Linked DNA regions of Homo sapiens: region 2 is linked to region 1. The links are contacts of gene promoters, found by promoter capture Hi-C in human tissues and cell types (Jung and others, 2019). All regions are on one chromosome and are shown on one strand. The core of a region is centred on a gene start or on the middle of the fragment in contact, and the rest is flanking DNA. Distances in the headings are between cores, read along the strand shown. Region 1 holds the start of PLA1A (phospholipase A1 member A). Region 2 overlaps ARHGAP31 (Rho GTPase activating protein 31).

Region 1 (2,700 bases), core at 170-2,669:
AATCTCTTGCATATCTTGTCTTACCTTGGCATCTTCTTCTCCGAGGACCTGAACTCATACACTTGGCTTGGTCTCTAATATCAAGACAGCTTTCAGTAGTGACCTCTGCTGTGCACTACTTATTGCCACACCCCTTCCTGGTTGCAGCAGCACTTGAGCAGTGAGATCATGTGCACAAGGGGATGTAAGGGCTAGCCCCTCCAAAATAATTGTATCCTGCGTTCAGCCATGATGACATGGTCCCAGAGCCTCTTCAGGAGTTGTTGCTGTAGAGTATCGTTGCTCAGAGCATGGATTCTGGGGCTGGCTCATCCCGCTTTAAATCCCAGCTCTGCATGACCTCAGGCAAATGACTTAAATTCTCTGTGCCCTACCAGCTGTGTAAAACACAAATGTTTGTATTTAATACAAATTACTTCTATCACAGAGAAGTAATTTGTACTTATCTGTGCTTACTAACTGTGTAATTGTCACAGTTAAGTAATTTGTATACAATTATAATACAAATAAGTAATTTGTTGTACAAATTACTTAACTTCTCTGTGATAATACTCACCTCAGAGAGTTATTGTTTGGAAAAGATGATCCTGGCCCTGCCAGTGGGCTGTCTACCTCACAGCAATGTGTTATGATTTAGGGAGTGGGGGGCAAGTGCCCTGCCCTCTGCCTCTGCCCCATTGACTTGCCTAGAAATAGCTCTTTGTGGTTTCTGCCACTCTTTGGGGTGGAGAGGCCATATGGTGCTGGAACCATCTTGGTTCCAGGCCCGGCTCTGCCACTTCCACCAACGGGATCTCTACAGGTCATTTTCTTTTTCTAATATGCAGTTTCTTTGTGAATTCAGGAAGTTGAACATCTCCAAAGTTGGACTTGACTCCTAGCCCCAAGATTCTACAAAATGATAGTACTCTCCAGAGGAAACTTTTTCTTCCCTTCTTCCCTTTAAATGGACACTTAATATATAGTATTATCTCAGTCTTGTGCTAGGCACTGGGTATTCAAAAATGAAAAGAGAAAGCCTTTGCTCTCAAGTCACTCAGAATCTTCTAGGGAGACACACATGTCCACAGATAATTCCAACACAATGAGGGGTTTCTGGCCACCCAGAGATGCAGGACTTCTGCCTTGGTTATTACTAACATCCTATCACGGGAAGTGGGAGAGGTGCAGGAAATAGTTTCCTGATCATGTTTGGCTCAAAGAGGGACAGTGTGTTTCAATGCACTCTGGTTAACAAAAAAGAAAGTGTATTTATTTTCATTGAGAAGAAGAAACCGAAAACTCTGGCATTTAAATAAATAAAGAAGAATTTATTTTTCCTTTTCAGGTCATGAGGCTAGTTAATGATTAGTGAAATCCACGTGGGTGTTTTCTGAGAGGCTGGGTTATATGATCTCTTTGGCTTTAGGGAATTACTCCATACCAGCTCTGAGATTTCCAGCTCAGCGATGCCCCCAGGTCCCTGGGAGAGCTGCTTCTGGGTGGGGGGCCTCATTTTGTGGCTCAGCGTTGGAAGTTCAGGTAAGCCAGGGCTCAGGCCTTGGGAGGAACTTATTTCAGTCAGTGATCATATTTCTCCAACTACTTATGCAGTACTAACTTTTGGAAGATCCCCTAAAAGCCTTTTGCCTCTTCTGAGGTGAATTTAAAACAGTAGGGGAAAAAAACCCCTTTTATCATAATCGGAATGATGGTAAACAGGTCACAAAACCTGAACTTTCCCTGGTTATCCGACTCATTTTTCTAAAGCCCACATAAAAAAACCCTTTCTCACCTTGCACAAGCCAGGACCAACTGTAAGAAAATAAAATTTGGTTAATTCTAAGATATTCATTTTTCACCCCATAAATATCCACCATTCCAAGATATATTTAATTTTAAAATTTAGGTTTTCCAAACTAATAATGATTTTGTCACTGAGATTGTTAGATGTCCTTTCTAATCCAGCAACCTAACTCAAGTGGTTTGTCATCCTGGCTGGGTGATGGGAACTAGTCCCTGCTAACCTCAGATGCCCCTGGGAAAACTTCCCTCAGATGCCAATTTGCATTTACCTTTCCCCCAGTAAAGAACTGACCCACTGATCCCTCTTGCCTAACAGAAAATTAACCTGCTCTACTTTGGGTTCTCAGAAGTTCTCAGAAGACTCCTTCTCACTATGGTGAGGTCACCCTTAGAAAAATCCCCTCCCTCTACTCACAATAGCAGGCTGCTTTTCTGTCTTCTCCGCTGGACATTTAATTCTCATTCCCTGGCTCTAGAATATGTCATTGCTTCTGCCTGGGGTTGCTCACATCACCTTTGGATTGATTTCTGTTCTTTGCATCTTTCAAGGGGGCTTCTGTATTCCTATCTCCCTTGTACTCATTCTTTTTCTGCTCAGCACCCCTCCCTGCTACAAAGTTCCACTGGGTGACTGCATGCTCTCCTTGCACTCATGGGTGGTTTTTCAGAGGTGCTGTTGAGCTCTGTATGTGCTTTCTCCTACCTCAATTAGTTGTCCCTAAAAGGTGAGGATTTGAGGCTTCTGTCTCTTTTAGCATAGTTAGTGCTGTGCTCTGTATAGAGCAGATGTCCAGTGAATATTGCAGACATTGATGCTTAGAGGAGGCAATGGGCTGAGCTGATGGGGAATAGGCTCTGTCTGGGTCGGGCTAACCCAGACTGGAATCCTGGCTCTGTTTCTTTGTAGCTATGTGA
Region 2 (2,700 bases), core at 31-2,530, 260 kb before region 1:
AGCCCAGGCTCATCAGATCCCAGAGCCCATGCGTCATCTATCGCATTTTGCTGCCCTCATCAAAGGTGCTATTTGTTCCATATGTTGGAAATACTGGACCCAAACAGCCCAACCCAGCATTCTGGGTTGAACCAGGCATGTTTGTTGGAAAGAAATATTGCTCTTTCTTCAAAAAGGGACTCTGAATTTTCATTAATATTAATTTTCCACTATGAACCTATTATCTGTGTATGTATCCTAACTTTTTGAGAAGATATTTATGTTTTCTAACTGTTGTACATTTCTGGAAGGAGCCAAGGTTAGCAGCTCCCACTAGCATATTACTCACTGTGTAAAGGAGCATTTCTTTAGTATCTGAAGTTGTTCTGATTTTGCTGTAGTACTAGAATTTGTTCATTACGTTTACTCCAGCTATATTCTTTTTAAAAGTATTTCGTCTTTTCTGAGCTTTTTTCTTAATACATGTGATAAATGTTTATTTTAGAAAGTCCTACTTTATTATCATATTAGAGAGATGTCTAGCTTAGATTTGTGTAGCACTCTGCAGCCTTTGTAATCCGTGCCTCCCCACACTTTTCCTTCCCAACACTTATTACCTCCATTGACAGGTGAGCTCAGGGAGGTGAAGTGACTTACCTAAAAATTCAGAGTCAGGAAGAGGCAGAACAGAAGCAGGATAGAACCTAGTTCCGACTCTCACCGTTTTATTCCTTTCTTTTCACCATGCTGCCTCTTGGTTCTTCGGGCTTTCAATTATTACACCTCATTATGAGAAGTGTTTTATGACTGCTACTTTGTGAGAAGTTAAGTACTGAAGTAAAATTGAAATAAGCTGCCAATCCTGCTCATTAAATGTGGTGGGAGGTTTAAATGACATTGCCTGCTTTATGTTTGGTCTTTGTTATCACCAACAGTCTCAGAGTCACTTATCAACCCTGGCACATGTGCACAGCATCTTGGAGAAGGATATGACCCAGATGTGCCCTAGACAGTGCCTCAACTCCTTTAAAGACAAAGAAGAGTGGAATATAGGCTCCTGGAGGGGGACTGATGCCCAGGGACCCCCTTCCCCCAGGCACAGTGAGACCTCTTGCCCTTCCAGCACCTTGCTGACTTCCCTTAGTGGTGTCCCTGATACTTCATCTCCCGGCTCCCCCTCATCTCCTGTTTGGCTTGCCGTCTTGGCCCCCACTCCAGCCCCCACCCTGTCCTTTTGGCCTGGCTCCTTGGCAGGGCTCCTGTCGGACCAGACACTTGCGTGACTGCTGGTGCCTTTGGCTGGGCTCCCTTATCCCTGAAGCCTCTCTTCCTGGCTTCAGACCCTCACTGAGAACCCAGCTGCTGCTTCTGGAAACATCCAAATAGTAGCTCTCAGCTCCCTGGTGAGATGCTCTTGACAAAGGCCAAATTTCCCTGTGATTAGGGAGCTTCAGCCTTGGGGCTTTGTGGTCCCCTCGAAGTCATGCCTTCTGGGCCCATCTTCAGGTAGGGTGACCCATATAACTTATCATCCAAGTTGGGGCACCTTAAGAGTAGAAGGGAGTGCTGTTAATAATTTCATCTGCATGATAGGAATAAACAAGGACCATCCCTGGCCAGCAGGGATATGTTCCAGGTTGTAGTCAACCTGACTCTCCCATTGAACAACGAAGTCCACGTTTATTGGAGGCTGACTCTGCACCAAGCACTGCACTAAGCACTTTACAAGCGTGCATTATTCATTTAATTCTTACAATAATCCTATATGTGTAATGTTGCCCTTATTTTACAAAGGAAGAAACTGAGGCCCAGAGAAGTTAAGTAATTTGCTTGAGGTCACATCAATTAAGTGGTAGGCCCTAGTCTGACTCTAAAGCCTTTACTTTTCAATCCTCCTTTTGGGTCCTGACCAGTAAGATAAAGGAATCAATAGAAATGAAACCCTTCAGTAGGAAGACAATGGAGATAGTCTCCAAATTAAAAATGAGTTATGCTGTAGAAGAACACTTGTATGTTGATTGCTCAGAATTTGAAATTCATTTTCCCATGGGAAAAAAAAAAGATCTAAAATGGTGGTTAGGCTCTAAGCCCAGCCAACAAAAGTCTATGCAGACTATAATTTCACTGTGGCCTACTCCTCTATGTAATACTGAACTGGCATGGGAAGCAGAAGCCATAGATTTCTATCGTAGTTCTTTCACATACTGGCTATGTGACTTGAGACAAATTATTTAATCTCTCTGAGCCTCAGTCTTATCAAAATTGAGATAATGTCTAGCTTCTAAAAAGTGCAAGAATCACAGGAGATAATGTACATAAAGTCTTTTTAAAAATAGCACTTATCACATTGTAGGAACTGACCACCATTTATGACATTGCCAGGACGCAAGCCAAGTTTTGGAGAACCCTAACCCCGGTCCTCAAAGTGGAGACACTTTGAGGAGCCCCTAGGCCAGGGCAGGCCAGGGGATGTCTGTGGAAATGCGTTCTCCTTGGTGAAACCAGTGGCGCTGTGAGAAACATAGGAAGAGAATGGTATTGGGGAGGAGAACACAGGCTTCCACAGGGATTTGGGGCCCAGTTAGGCGAAGAGGAGTATGTGGCAGCCACACAGCAGTGGGGGTCTGCACTCTGAGGAGGAGGGGCATTGGTCTGTGGCTGCAAGGTAAGATAGCCTTGGGGGCAGTGTCTCCACAGCTGTCAGGAGTTGTTCTGGTTTTG

What was found. The method cuts DNA at HindIII sites, captures the fragments that hold promoters and counts their contacts. A contact is called where the count stands out against the background at its distance.
Region 2: a contact is called between a fragment that was not itself captured here and the fragment with the promoter of PLA1A in region 1, in 1 of the 25 tissues and cell types used here (liver).

What each region holds. Positions count from the first base shown.
Region 1 is chr3:119,596,466-119,599,165 of GRCh38, forward strand. It overlaps PLA1A (phospholipase A1 member A), which reads left to right and starts at 1,420. Exons shown (of 11, transcript NM_015900.4): 1 at 1,420-1,521. The coding sequence starts at 1,449. RefSeq lists an enhancer at 2,099-2,288. The HindIII fragment of the contact is 21,246 bases long and covers 1-2,700 here.
Region 2 is chr3:119,333,053-119,335,752 of GRCh38, forward strand. The region is part of intron 1 of ARHGAP31 (Rho GTPase activating protein 31); the gene reads left to right. Among named protein-coding and RNA genes, the nearest start is that of ARHGAP31-AS1, 12 kb to the left of the region's middle. The HindIII fragment of the contact is 5,793 bases long and covers 1-2,700 here.